Regions from separate parts of the Homo sapiens genome. Here all the other regions are linked to region 5. The links are contacts of gene promoters, found by promoter capture Hi-C in blood cells and fetal thymus (Javierre and others, 2016). All regions are on one chromosome and are shown on one strand. The core of a region is centred on a gene start or on the middle of the fragment in contact, and the rest is flanking DNA. Distances in the headings are between cores, read along the strand shown. Region 1 has its middle 160 kb from the start of ALDH1B1. Region 2 overlaps SHB (SH2 domain containing adaptor protein B). Region 3 has its middle 25 kb from the start of SLC25A51. Region 4 has its middle 130 kb from the start of ALDH1B1. Region 5 holds the start of SHB (SH2 domain containing adaptor protein B).

Evidence for each region. Contacts are between HindIII fragments. The CHiCAGO score rates a contact against its expected background, and 5 or more counts as called.
Region 1: a fragment that was not itself captured here is called in contact with the fragment with the promoter of SHB in region 5 in 2 of 17 cell types (M0 macrophages and fetal thymus); the score reaches 5.3 in M0 macrophages.
Region 2: a contact is called between a fragment that was not itself captured here and the fragment with the promoter of SHB in region 5, in 8 of 17 cell types (M0 macrophages, M1 macrophages, endothelial precursors and 5 more). The highest score is 13.1, in M0 macrophages.
Region 3: a fragment that was not itself captured here is called in contact with the fragment with the promoter of SHB in region 5 in 1 of 17 cell types (M1 macrophages); the score reaches 5.1 in M1 macrophages.
Region 4: a contact is called between a fragment that was not itself captured here and the fragment with the promoter of SHB in region 5, in 3 of 17 cell types (endothelial precursors, M0 macrophages and M1 macrophages). The highest score is 9.1, in endothelial precursors.

The regions. Positions count from the first base shown.
Region 1 is chr9:38,233,037-38,235,736 of GRCh38, forward strand. No RefSeq gene overlaps it. Among named protein-coding and RNA genes, the nearest start is that of ALDH1B1, 160 kb to the right of the region's middle. The HindIII fragment of the contact is 4,391 bases long and covers 1-2,700 here.
Region 2 is chr9:37,925,142-37,927,841 of GRCh38, forward strand. All of the region lies in intron 5 of SHB (SH2 domain containing adaptor protein B), which reads right to left. Among named protein-coding and RNA genes, the nearest start is that of SLC25A51, 22 kb to the left of the region's middle. The HindIII fragment of the contact is 2,669 bases long and covers 76-2,700 here.
Region 3 is chr9:37,877,457-37,880,156 of GRCh38, forward strand. It overlaps a transcript of SLC25A51 not described here and the pseudogene PAICSP1. Among named protein-coding and RNA genes, the nearest start is that of SLC25A51, 25 kb to the right of the region's middle. The HindIII fragment of the contact is 5,529 bases long and covers 1-2,700 here.
Region 4 is chr9:38,258,871-38,261,570 of GRCh38, forward strand. No RefSeq gene overlaps it. Among named protein-coding and RNA genes, the nearest start is that of ALDH1B1, 130 kb to the right of the region's middle. The HindIII fragment of the contact is 8,269 bases long and covers 1-2,700 here.
Region 5 is chr9:38,067,899-38,070,598 of GRCh38, forward strand. SHB (SH2 domain containing adaptor protein B) reads right to left here and starts at 1,329. Exons shown (of 6, transcript NM_003028.3): 1 at 31-1,329. The coding sequence starts at 747. RefSeq lists an enhancer at 1-569 and silencers at 460-509, 930-1,739. The HindIII fragment of the contact is 5,108 bases long and covers 1-2,700 here.

The sequences.
Region 1 (2,700 bases), core at 69-2,568, 170 kb after region 5:
TCCCTGCAGGACATACCCAGGGTGGGGCACCAGGTAAGGCCCAAGTGTAAAATTCCACGTGCTATCGACTCACCTGCCATCCTCCTCAGGAGGTTGGACAGAGGTGGGACAGGAGCTGCCCTCTTCAAACCCAGTCCCAGGTTCTAGTCCCAGCTCTGTGAATGGCTGACTGGGTGACTCCAGGCAGGCTGCAGTCACTCTCCCAGCCTCAGTGTCCCCACTGTTGGCTGAAGGTCTGGAGCCCCAGCCCTGAGAGGTGCCAGCCTGCGCCCTGGAGGCTGGCAGGCCGGCTGCAGTGCTGCCGTCCTGGCACGGGAGCTCAAGCAGTGCACTCTCGCACTGGGGCTGCGCTTTCTTTTGATCACGCTTTCTCCTCACCTTGTCCTTGTGTCACTGGATAGGATCCCATCTGTCATGCTGAGCCATCTGCTTCCTCTCCTGCCATCTCTGCTGCCCAACTCTAAGTAAATTAAAAAACAAAGAGGCAGGAAGCCGCTGACAGCCGCATTTATCCTCATTTCTGTGGCTGGCAATGGGAGCTGAAGGGCTGGCTTGGTGGGTCTGAATTAAAGATTAGAGCAGGTGGGGAGGGAGACAGTCCTGTGGCTGTGACACCTCGACCGCGGATGACACCTTGGGTGGCCATGAATGTGGGCAGGGGCTGGGGAGGAAGGGATTCGAGTCAGTGTGAGGGGCAGTGGTGGGACGCTTTGGAGTTGGGCAAAACTGGTTTGTACCATCTCTGTGTATGACCCTGGGCAAGTCATTTACACTGGAAGCCTCAGTTTCCTTATCTGCGAGATGGGCATAATCGATATTACTGACTACACAAAGTGGTTGGGAGACTCAGTGAGAAGCATATAGTTTCATAGCAGGTATGCAGCCGGTGCTCTACAGAGAGGTATTTCTGAGGGATGCAGGGGACGCACGGAAAAAGATGGGGTTGGCATGGAGCCACTTGCCCAGGGAAGGGCATTAGGGAGGAGTTTGGTGACCTGTGTCTCCTCCGTGGGCCTCAGTCCCCACATCTCAAAGATGGGACTAGGACTGTTGGGTCAAACTCTAGGAAAAGAGCTGAAGGGGCAGGAGGCATGGGACAGCTGGGGGCTCAACTTGGAGGACAAGTGGGTCAGGAGCAGGAGACGCTGGAGGGGTCCGCTGTGGTGGCTTCCCAAGGATGGCTCTGCAGTTGATTGTGTTATTGCTTCCCACTGTTTCCTGCCCTCCTTCTGAGAAGATTGTATAATTTCTCCACCCCACTGACATCAGGTTTGGCCACACAACCAGTTCTGAGCAGAAGCTCCAAGAGCCGTCACACATTTCCATGATTGCTCTTTCTTTCCTACCATGGGAGCAAAATAAGGTGTTTTCATCTAGTCTAGGTGTTGAAATGAGGGTGGTGTGGGTCAGAGCCAAAGCTGACCCACAGCAGATATGGATGTGAGCCAGAAATAAATGTTCACTGTGAGTCACTGACATGTTAGGGTCTTTAGCAGAAGCTGTCTGTATAGGCCCCTTGGACTCCAAGCTGATCCTGATTTTAAGGAAAAGGTGCAGCCTGACTCTGCCTGCTTTCCTGCAATTTCTGGGTTCAGGCAGACAAAGGACCTTCTCTGGGCCTTGGTAATTTTGTCTGTAGAATGATTAGCCATGGATAAGTGAAAGTCCATAAGGTGGGGGAGGGTGGAGGACCATGCAACGGTGTCACCCCCAGTCCCAGGGGACCCTCCTGGGGTGGGCAGGCATGTGGCACAAATGAAAGCATATGTGACTATATTCTCGTCCTTTCCCCACTTCAGAGCATTTCTATTTCTTCCCACAGATCATACCATTGCAATGATCATTGCCCAGAACGCAGGCAACTCTACTCCCAAGCCATGTTACCACAATTATAGAGAGGTCATTAAGACACATTCCATGGATATCAGCTTAGACGTCCCTGAGTCTCAGGGTCTAAGTCTTCTTCCTGGCCTGACCTGATAGAACTCATGATTGGGAAATGGCCAGGCTCTAACTGAGACATAGAGATGTCCCTCCAGGCAGGCAAACAGCTTAACACAGCTTCAAAATGAAAGCCTTGACATTTATCTAAAGAGAAGGGATAGCTAACGGTGACATTAATCCTCTTTTTACTCTCCTGAGATATTTACTTCTGGCCCCAAACTTGATTAGTCCATTCTGTAAGACCAGAGCTCTGTAGGTAAGCAGGTCTCCCTGGAGTGGACATTTGTCCTTTGGGAGCCATCCTGGCATCTGAGTGCCCCGCTTATGCTTTGTCAGAGTCTGGCTCTCACAGTAGAAGCAGAAAAGGCTGGACACTTATTTTCCAGCCTCCCAGCAGTGAGGCCACAGGCACTCGCTCCCATCTGCTCCAGTGACACAGACAGTGGAGGCTCCATGCTGGTGCAGCAGCAGCCCCAGCCTCCAAGGGTCATGGTGGCAGCAGGGCAGCTGGCGGATCCAGTGCCCAGTGCAAGCAGCTCTGCCGTGTGAGCTGTGGCTAGCAGGACTTGGGGCCGGTAGCAGAGTTCTTGGTACTCTGCTCTGTGAGAGCTTCTGGCCATGGTCCTGGCCTCTGCCCATTTTCTAATCCTGGTTCTGCATCTGTCCCATGTATTCTGTGAGATCCTCACTGTTCTTTCACTAAATTTGCCTTCTGCTTGTTACCAGCAAGAAGGCTGTTTCTATTGCTTGCTAGTA
Region 2 (2,700 bases), core at 160-2,659, 140 kb before region 5:
ATCCATCCACCCGCCCACCAGGGTCTGCCCAGAGCCGGGGCAATGAGGCCCCATGCATCCTCCCCTCCAGACGTAAGCTTCCCAGGGCAGGCTGGTGGCTGGTCGACCTTGTCCCTGACTGCAGCCCAGCAAAGGGAGAAGCTGCCCACTCTGAGGCTGGATACAGTGGATGCTTTCTCCAGTCAGCAACAGTCCCAGGACGAGCCAGTGAGAACTGGCAGAGTGGGAAGGACTGGGGAGCTTCCGGAGGGTCATCCCTATGAGGTGAGTACACAGGCACACGCTTTTCAAATCAGAAAGTCTCCCCCAGGGAGGCCACAGGGAAGAATGCACCAGAGCCCTCTTCCCTTAGGATTTGGAAAGGACTTATTCCTGAGGCCACTCAGCCGCCCAGTGTCCCCTGCCCAGGCCTAAATAAAACATGAAAGTGAGACAAGTTCCCTTGCAAAATCATGGTCTTCTTGAAGGGGTAATGTGAGCGCTGGCCCTGCCCCTCCCTACTCAGGCTCTAAGTGGCTGCGTCTTTTCTTCTTGTTGGGCTATTTTATTTTGCTATTTTTTACCCCTACTCTTTCTTATGACTTTATTTTCCATTACCCCAAAGAATGTGGCACAAAGCTGTTGGGCCATTTTAAACATTTAAATCTTACATTGTGCGAAGATTCCTGGGCCAGGTTGTTGGAAGGAGAGACAGAATGAGCTTGTGCATTTAAAGTGCACTCAACCATCAGTTGCCAGATAATTCTCAGGTGAGGGAGGTGTCGCAGGTCCCTTGGCCTTGGGGAGCAGGGCAGCGAGTGCTCACACTCTGATCCCTGGGAGCACTGCCTCTATGCTTGGCATGGGGAAGGGCCCTTCCACCCCCACAGACATGTACTTGCTTCCAACAGGGTGGAGGCAAACAGGGAAGTTTGTGCGGAATTGAAGGGAGTCAGGCCCAGCTCTAATGCTAACCTGCTGTGATGTGGGTGAGAGCCAGCATGGAGGGTGACCATGGCAAGGTACCTCCGTGGTCACCTACAAGCCTGCAAAATGGGTAGTTCCTGCCATAACCCCACCCCCACCCTGAGGATGGCAATTCTGCCTCTTGAAAGCAGTGCCTTTATGACTCACAACTTCTGCTCTCCTCCTGCCGCCTCTTTGACCTCCAGGGAAGTGGGACATTTTGCTAGGTCTATGCCTCTAAAGAAACTCTCCTCCTCACACCCGCGAGCAGGATGCAGCCACTTCAGCAACACTAGTGCTAGAAGATTCGAGAAGCACAGCATTACCCATCTTACCGACTGTGGCCATGCTGCCAAGAGCTCTATGTACCTCTTCACAGCAACACCAAGAGATGGGCCTACAGATTCCAGGTGGGGAAACAGAGTCAGAGGGCTCAAGTGACTGGCCTGGGACTATGCAGCCACTGAGGCGAGAAGTGAGACTGAACACAAGTCCATTGAATCTTCACAGAGCCAGAGTGGGTGCCCGCCTGCCAGGCAGACACACGACCCCGTTCTCCCTCAATGTGTGGTAGATAAAGAGGCGGTAGAGATCTCTGAAGAGAATTAGGCCACTGTTTCAGTACAGCATTCAGCAAAGAGAGGGCCCTGCTATCTTAGCAGAAAGCCAACAATCCCAAATGCATGGAGAGCTGTAGCCTGGACCTGGGCTACCTCCTTACAGACACTGCCCCAACACTGTGAGAGATGTGGCTTCTCCACAGCAAATATTTCAACAGTCCACCTCTGTGGTCCAATTACTCACCCAGAGCCCAGGCAGATCCCACTCACACAGGGCCTGGCCTACCTCTGGCATGGCTGAGAAGACCTTAAATGCTCCCTTGGTCCATGACTGGACTAACCTGTGGCCTCCCAAGGAAGCTGGGAGGGCTGGCATTATATGCAAGATACCCACTGCACAGATGAGAAGACTAAGGGTCTGAGGGAGAAGCAACTTGCCCAGTCACGATGCAAGGCTATCAGGGCTTCCCAAGCCAGGGGACCAGGATGTAAGTGCATCTCACTGTGTGACTGGTTTCTCCAGCTGTCTGAGGCGTGGGGCAGGGGGCATGGAGGCTCCTTCTAGCTGAGATGTTCTAATAGTCAAGGCAGCTGGGATAAAGGAGCTTAGGAGGCCACGTGGCCAACACCTGCATCCTGCCCACAGCTTCCAAAGCAGCCTTCACAGTGACAAGCCAAAGACACACACACCAAGTTATTGTGAACAAACGTCTCAATGTAAACGCTGCTGAGCAAAATGACGTGATTTACAACCAAATAATTAGACTTTCAATAGACGCATCAGCAGCGATTAGCCTACCCGAGACGCCAGGGCATTTCTCAAGCTCTAAGTTGGTGGCCCAGGGTGAAGGCCTTCAGTAAATCATGACAAAAAGCCATCTCTAGGCAGGAGAGCTGGCAGATGCCTCTCCTGGCGAACATGTAGAGGCATAAGGCTCGTTTTAGCACACAAAGCAGTAGGTATGTCAAAATGAACCCATTTTGGGCAATTTTTCTCATGAGAAAACCAACACATTATTAGACAAGAAGTTTTTAAATGATGAGCGCTCAGACTGAGGGAGTAAGCCTCCCATTACCAGGGGTGTGTAAGTGGGAAGGCAATGACACTTGGTGGGTGGATCCCGCTGGATGCCTTTTGTAGTCCCCCCTCAGGGTTCCCACCAGCCTCAGCCAAGTGCACGTGGAAACTGCAAGG
Region 3 (2,700 bases), core at 182-2,681, 190 kb before region 5:
AATGAAGGCTGACCTTCATTCGGTCATTTCATAGGATATTCCAGAATGCTGTGATACTGAATATCCATGTGTCCCATCATTCTTGATTCTTGGTTGTTTTTTTTTTTTTTTTTTTTTTGAGACAAGGTCTTACTATATTGCCTAGGCTGGACTTGAACTCTCAAACTCCTGGACTCAATAGATCCTCCTGCCTTGGCCACCCAAAATGCTGAGATTGCAGGCGTGAGCCACTGTGCCCTGCCAGGACTGGCTTTTTAAAGAGGCAACAGGGCCAGGCATGGTGGCTCATGCCTGTAATCCCAGCACTTTGGGAGGCTGAGGTGGGTGGATCACTTGAGCTCAGAAGTTTGAGACCAGCCTAGGCAACATGGTGAAACCCTGTCTCTACAAAAAATACAAAATTTAGCTGGGAATGGTGGCACACACCTGTGGTCCCAGCTACTGGCAATGCTGAGATGGGAGGATCGCTTGAGCCTGGGAGGCTGAGGCTGCAGTGGGCCAAGATTGCGCCAATGCACTCCAGCCTAGGTGACAGAGTGAGAATCTGTGTCAATAAATAAATAAATAAATAAATAAAGCAAGAGGTATCAAATATTCACAACAGAGATTTCTGCCTCTCAGCATGGGTGCAACTTTCATCCCACTCAGGATAATAGTGAGAGCTGAGGTACTGAACATTGCTAAAAAACTATGTGAGGGTAAAACAAAAGAGGTCTATGAATTGCTTGTTAGATAGGCCAGGAAAAGTCCTGCAATCTAAGGACCAGATTACAGCAGGAAATGCAGTCAGAATCACCTGGAAGGAAAAGCTGCAATCTCAAATAAAATTACCAGTTGCATTTTTCTGTTGTTACAGGAAGCAGGTATTAAAACTGCTTTCACCAGAAAATGTGAGGAGACAGCTTTCATTGTGCCCCAGTGTGAAATAATTCCAACTGAATGGTTTGCAGAAGAATACCAACTGGTTCTTCACTCGAAAGAAATCCTGGTGTCAAGGAAGGATGTGAGTTTTGCCCACCTAAAGTGGAGATGTTTTTCAAGGATGATGCCAATCATGACCCACAGTGGTCTAGGCAACAGCTAATTGCAGCAAAATTTGGCTTTGCTGCACTTGGTATAAAACTGAAGTGGATATCATGAGTCATGCCACATAGGCTGTTTTTGAAATCCCGGAGAAATCCCGGTTGCTCCCAGAACTGTACACCGGTTGATATGAAGATTGAATTTGGTGTTCATGTGACCAGCAAAGAAATTCTCACTGATGTTATTGATAATGACTCCTAGAGACACTCACCATCGGGGGAGCAAAGCCAATAGAAAGACAGTCTTTTAATCATACTTTTAAAAATGTTATTTTAAAAAAATAGAGCCAGTCTTGCCATGTTGCCCAGACTCAAGCAATCCTCCTGCCTTAGCCTCCCAAAGTGCTGGGATTACAGGCGTGAGCCACCACTCCTGGCTGAAACAGTCTTATCAAGGCTTCAGTGTAACTCCTGAAGGGTTCCAAATGGTAAGGAAAAACTTTGCGTGGGTTGTAGAGAGTAGAGTTGCTTTTGAAATCAGAAAGTCAGTGCAGTGTTATAGTATTGATGGGTTCTACTTCTGATCTTAATCACCGTGAAAAAAATCAAGGCCTGTGGAAATTTTGGCATTCCATGTAGACTTTGAGTAACATCTGCACATAAAGGACCAGAAGAAATGCTGAGGATTAAAGCTGAGTATGAAGGGGTGGCAGTCGTACTGTATTTGTGGCAGTGGCAGGCAGAAGCAATGGTTTGGGATCAGTGATGTTTGGGAACACTACACATCCAGTTATCTATTGTCCTCCCCTCACACCAGACTGAGGAGTTCAGGATGTGTGGTCTTCTCTGCGACTACTCAGTGGTCTCGGCTATTCAACCATACTTTCTCCAGAAGGATCAGCTCAGTTTGCTACTCAGATATTTGGATTAAACAACCATTTATTATGGGGCAAACTGCAAGCAAGCACTTTGAACACATGGATTTTTTGGAAGAAAGGTGACAAGAAAATCAGAGAAAACATCATTGCATTTTTAGGGGGAAAACTACAAATTTCTAATTTAGCTGCAGAAAAAATAATTAGAGAACACAAATAAAATGTACTAGTGAATACATGCTTCTCTAGACCCAAACAAAAACTATTTGCAACGTAATTAAAACAGGTTAAGTGCTGTGAAAAATAGAAACATGGTGACATAGAAGAGCCTGACGGGGGAACCTAACCGAGTCCTGAGAGTGTAAGCCAGCTTCCCCAAGGAAGTGACACTTCAACCGAGATCTGAAGGACAGCAGTCTATAAATGAAGTAGAGAAAGGCAGTGCTGAGGGCAGAGGGCACCTGCATGGGCAGAGGCTGGGAGCAAGATGAGTACAGCGTGCCCCAAGTAATCAGGAAGTGCCAGTGGCTGGAGTGCAGAGACAGCAGCGCAGTTTTAGCTAGAGATGAGAGTAAGGGAGGCAAGGGCTGGATCATCCTGTCTCCTGTAGGCCACAGCAAGATGTTTGGTCTTTATGGCAGAGGAAAAGCATTTATTGAAGTGACATTTTAAAAAATTACTGATGGCCGGGCACGGCGGCTCACGCCTGTAATCCCAGCACTTTGGGAGGCTGAGGCAGGTGGATCACTTAAGGTCAGGAGTTTGAGACCAGCCTGGCGCAAAACTGTCTCTACTGAAAAAAT
Region 4 (2,700 bases), core at 99-2,598, 190 kb after region 5:
GCCACGAGGCTCTACCCTCTTCCTCTCCACATGTGAGAGTTCACCATAAATTAACACGTTAAACAGAAGGACAGGCACAGAGAGAGTCAGAAACCCAGGCTCCCTCATGGGGATGTGGCAGGCCAGTTTTCTGCTTTACCCCTCAATTTTCTCATCTGTAAAAGGGGTTAATAATTCCTGTACGGCCACACCCCCTCCCAAGGCTGTGGTGAGGATTAAGAGGGTGATGGAGATAATGACTGGGCATGAATTCAAGAGGGAGGGGCCACATGAAATGGTAGTAGGGGCTTCCATTTACCTGGGCTCACCTGGCCTGCCCAAGCTCATAGGTCAATTGTAACACCCCACTATCTGCCATTTGTATGGCTCTTTACAGACAGAAACCTGAGGCTCAGAGGGAAGTACCTTGCTCTAGGTCATAAAGCTCAGGTTGTGTAAGGTGAGAAGGAACTCAGCAGAGCCAGCAGCAGCTCCTCTCTCTCTAGTTTGCATTATATTTGAAATTTATCACAACAGAAGCAACAGGAGACACGTGAAGACGGCCAGAGTCAGGTCTGGAACCAGGGTGTCTGTGTCCATTGTCCTCATTCTTAACCGGGGTGCTATGTATGATACACAGTTGGGTGAAGGCTGAGCTTCACTGAGGCTGGAGAGCGCTCATGTTCCCACTCAGGCCCCATCGCCCATCTGCAGATGGTGGCCCCTCCACAGGTGGGCAATGAGGCCTGAGTGTAGACATCCAAGGGAGATAAGAGGTGCTAAAGTCTGGTGGGCCAGGGAGTTGGCTCTGAATCTGCATCTTTGGACCAGGTCATAGGAATCCAACTGTCTGCTCCTTGCTTCACAGCTCCTTCCCTAGCCACTCTGAATGGGCCCAGAAAGAACTCAGGCTGGTGACGATGGGTAATCAGACCTGCTTGTAGAACATTAGAGCTCACTTAGAGCTTCGAATCAGCCTAGATAGAGGCCAATGTCCATCAACTGATGTGGGGAGGTTGGAGGTTTCTGAGGGAGAGATAGGAGCATTTGCAAGGAAGCAGGACTCCTGAAAAGAAAGGGATAAAGATTCCCAGCCCTATAAGAGTTACAAGTACTGAAGCATACCTAGTGGCCTGGAGTGGTCCTGAGCAAGGCACAATAACAAGGATGAACCAGGAAGAGGACTCCACACAGAATTCACGAAGGGAGGGAGATGGCACCAGCTGGCTTACATCTACACTGAGGCAAAGGATGGGAGAGGACATGAAGGTAGGTGGTGCTTTATCCTTCTTATAAATCTAAACATTAATAAAATCCAGCGCCTCGAACGCTGCATCCTCTGGAGGGGAGGTATTTACCCAAGACAAATAAAAACATATGACCACAAAAAGAATTGTTAAAAAACCAAAAGTCCATAGCAGCTTTGTTCACAATGGATAAAAGCTAGAAATATCCCAGGTGTCCATCAACAGAAGAGTGGACAAACTGTGGTATATCCACACAACAGGATACGACTCTGTGCAAAGAAGACAAAAATTAGTGATATGCACATCCACATGTATGAATCTTAAAAACACTGGGCTGACTGAAAGAGGCCTTTTATGGTATGTCTCAATTCACATGATGTCCTAGAACAGATACAATTAAGCTCTGGTAGGAAAAAAAAAAAGAAAAAAACAGAAAAGTGTTTGCAGGTGGAGGCGGGAGCAGTGGGAATTGGATGGGAAAAAGCATGAGTGGACTTCCTGGCGTGAAGAATATTTTCTATCTCTTGATGAAGGGTTTGAATTACATCAGTGGATGAACTTGGCAAAACTCTTTGAATAGTAAGACTTAAGATTTGTGCATTTGATTATATAAAAATTTACTTTAAAAAATCTGTAAATACATATGGAACTCTAGTTAATGATATACATGTTGAAGTGTTTCTGGGCAAAACATATTTTTTAGTATCTTATTTTAAAATGCATTTAAAAATAAGATGGATAGACAGATGGATCAATTGATAGATGATAAAGCAAATATGACCAAATGTTAATTTTGGTGGGTATATGGGTGTTTGCTTTATAACTTTAAAAATTTTCCTGTATGTTTGAATATTTTTGTAACAGAATGTTGTGAGGAAGATAACTGGTGCTAATTGTCTTTCTTTCTCTTTCTTTCTTTCTTTCTTTCTTTCTTTCTTTCTTTCTTTCTTTCCTTCCTTCCTTCCTTCCTTCTTTCTTTCTTTCTTTCTTTCTTTCTTTCTTTCTTTCTTTCTTTCTTTCTTTCTTTCTTTCTTTCTTTCTTTTTCTTTCTTTCTTTTAGATGAAGTTTCACTCCTGTTGCTCAGGCTGGAGTGTAGTGGTGTGATCTCTGCTCATTGCAACCTCTGCCTCCCAGGTTCAAGTAATTCTCCTGCCTCAGCCTTCAGAGTAGCTGGGATTACAGGTACCTGCCACCATGCCTGGCTGATGTTTTGCATTTTTATTTTTATTTATTTATTATTTATTTATTTATTTATTTATTTATTTATTTATTTATTTAGAGATGGAGTCTTGCTCTGTTGCCCAGGCTGGAGTGCAGTGGCACAATCTTGGCTCACTGCAAGCTCCACCTTCCAGGTTCTTGCCATTCTCCTGCCTCAGCCTCCCGAGTAGCTGGGACTACAGGCGCCCACCATGATGCCCGGCTAATCTTTTGTATTTTTAGTAGAGACAGGGTTTCACTGTGTTAGCCAAG
Region 5 (2,700 bases), core at 79-2,578:
ACCTCGGGAAGAGGCCAAGGGGCACCTTACCTTGTCCTTCTTGCCGGCCCCGCTCTCCTCCGCGGCTGAGGCGGCGCACTTGTTGAGCAGTTTCTTGCCTCCGCAGGCCGTCGGGCTCCAGGTGCGGCCGCCCGCGCAGGCGCCCCCCAGGGGGTCCCCGGCCCCACCGCCCGCGGCGCTCTCCACTTTGATGAGGCGGTGCTTGGGGGAGATGTAGCGCACCTCGGCCGGCGTGGCGGGCCGCCGCTCGCTGCTGCTGCGGTAGAGATGCGGAGAGCCGGAGGACGAGGACGAGGACGCGGCGGCCCCCGCGCCCGAGGAGGCGCAGCAACAGCCCGCGGCGCCCGACGCGGACGAGGCCGAGAAGGCGCGCTGGACCCCGCCTGGCTCCCCGCTGCCGCCGCAGTAGTCCAGGCGGCACATGGCGCGCAGTTTGCGCAGCGACGAGCCAGGCCCGTTGTAGGGGTCCTCGAAGTCTCGCTCCTTCTGCGCGCGGTAGGCGCGGATGAGGTCGCTGGTGCTGCCGCTGTCGTCGGGCAGCGAGCCCGAAGAGGCTGAGAAGCAGGAGGCGGTGGCCGGACCGCAGGACGCCGAGGCGGCGGAGGAGGCCTGCGGCACGGCCTGGGGGGGCTGCGAAGGCCGCTCGCCTCGGCGCCGCTGCTCGCGGTAGTCTGGCCGCGGCGGCTGCGGGGGGCTCTTGGTCTTGCTGTTGCCCAAGCTGAAGTACTTGTTTAGCCACTTGGCCATGGCGAGAGGCCGCCTAGGGCCGCGGCGCGGGAGCCCGGTCCGCCGCCGCGGCCATTCGGGGGGCAGCGCTGCGGCGCAGGTCCCTCGGCGCCCCGGCCCCGGCGGGGGGCGTCCGGGGCGCCCGCTCCCGACGCCAAGTTCAAGTTCTTGCCGCCGCCGCCTCCTGCCGGCAGCTCTCTGGCTCCGGCGGCTGCAACACCTCCCTCCGCCTAGCGCCGCCCAAGCTAGGAATCTCGCGCCCCTCGTGGGCGCGTCTCATGGGGTCCCGGCCCACGCCCGGGGGAGAGCGGAAGGTCCGAGCGCTCCACGCCGCGGACCCTTTGGCCGTACGCCCCTCGCCGTGGATCGCGCTCCTGCCCCGTCGGAGCCGCAGCCTCCGCCTTGGCCGGGATCCGCGGCTGCCGCGGGAACTTCTCGGCGTCCTCGGCTCCCTTCTTCCTTCCTGCGAGCGCTGGGGAGAGCTCGGCCCCGCAGCGGAGGAGAATGCGGCCGGGAGAGACAGCGAGCGACGGAGGAAGGCAGCCGGCGCCCGCCGGAGCCCGCGCGCCCGTGCCCGTCCCGGCGGCGCCTGTCGCTGCCACTGCCGCCGCCTCCCGAGCCGCCGCGTGTGTGACACTCAGGCCGCCAGAGCCCGCCCCGCGCCGCCGCCCCGCCCCCCCGGAGCCCGCTCGCGCGCCCCGCCCCCCGCCCGCTCCCGCAGACCCAGCACCGCCCATCCCCGCGAGCCTGGCCCCGGGCCGCGGCCCAAGCCCCGCCCCCCTCGCGCCCGGGGCCGGGGTGGGCGCACCTCTCCGCTCCTGCACACGCCACCTCCCGCGGCTGCCCTGGCGCCAGCACCAGGGTCTTGCCCCAGGGCGCTGGGGTCCCGCCGCGCAGCCGGCTCCACCTAGCTTGCAGCTCGCCGCCGCCTCGGGCGAGAGGTTGCCTGGCGGAGCCTGCTACGCGCAGAGGCCAAACCTTTCCGCAGTCCCCCGGGACCCCGCGCGTTGTTCACTCCAGGGATCCCCCTGTCGGGGTTGAGGAGGGAGAGTGGATTAACACGGAACCTGTCTAGTTTACAGCGTGGCCCGTGTGGAGGAAATGCAGTGCCTAGTGCCCTTAGGGACAGAGTGGCTGTCCCTCTTCCTTAAAGGGACAGACTCCGGTTCAGCCCCGTGCGCCAGGTCTTCGGAGGAATCTTTATGCTAATGAGTGTATTAGCAGTCCAGATGACGGATGTGGTCGGGATAGGCGGTGGGAGCCGGGCCCAGCACCAATCCGAGAGCAAGGCTAGGGGAGGTCGGAATGTTTGCTTACCTTTTCACCTCTGAGGAAGTCGAGGCTTTAGCCCTGTTCGCTGCCAGCCGGCGGGGAGCAAGTTGTGGGAACATTTAATGCCTTATGTTGTAGGAGCTGGCAAGGATCCATTTAATACAGGACCTCGGCCGGGTGCGGTGTCTCACGCCTGTAATCCCAGCACTTTGGGAGGCCGAGGCGGGTGGATCACGAGGTCAGGAGTTTAATACCAGCCTGGCCAAGATGGTGAAACCCCGTCTCTACTAAAAATACAAAAATTAGCCGGGTGTGGTGGCGGGTACCTGTAATCCCAGCAGCTACTCGGAAGGCTGAGGCAGAGAATTGCTTGAACCTGGGAGGCAGAGGTTGCAGTGAGCCGAGATCACACCACTTCACTCCAGCCTGGGCGACAGAGGGAGATTCCGTCTCAAAAAATAAATACAGGACCTCATTTTACAGATGGAGAAACTGAGGCCCAGAGGAAAGTCACACAGGTGGACTTGGATGCCAGTTCCTAAGTCGGGTGGCACCATAATTATGTCTTTTCCAAGAGTCTCTTCTTTGCGATTTCAGATCATCCTTTGATTATTAACCAAAATTGAGGAAACAGTCCCAGGGAGTGGCCTGATTTGGTCAGTGTAACTTTTCCTGGGATCTGCACCCAGGGGAGGTGGCATG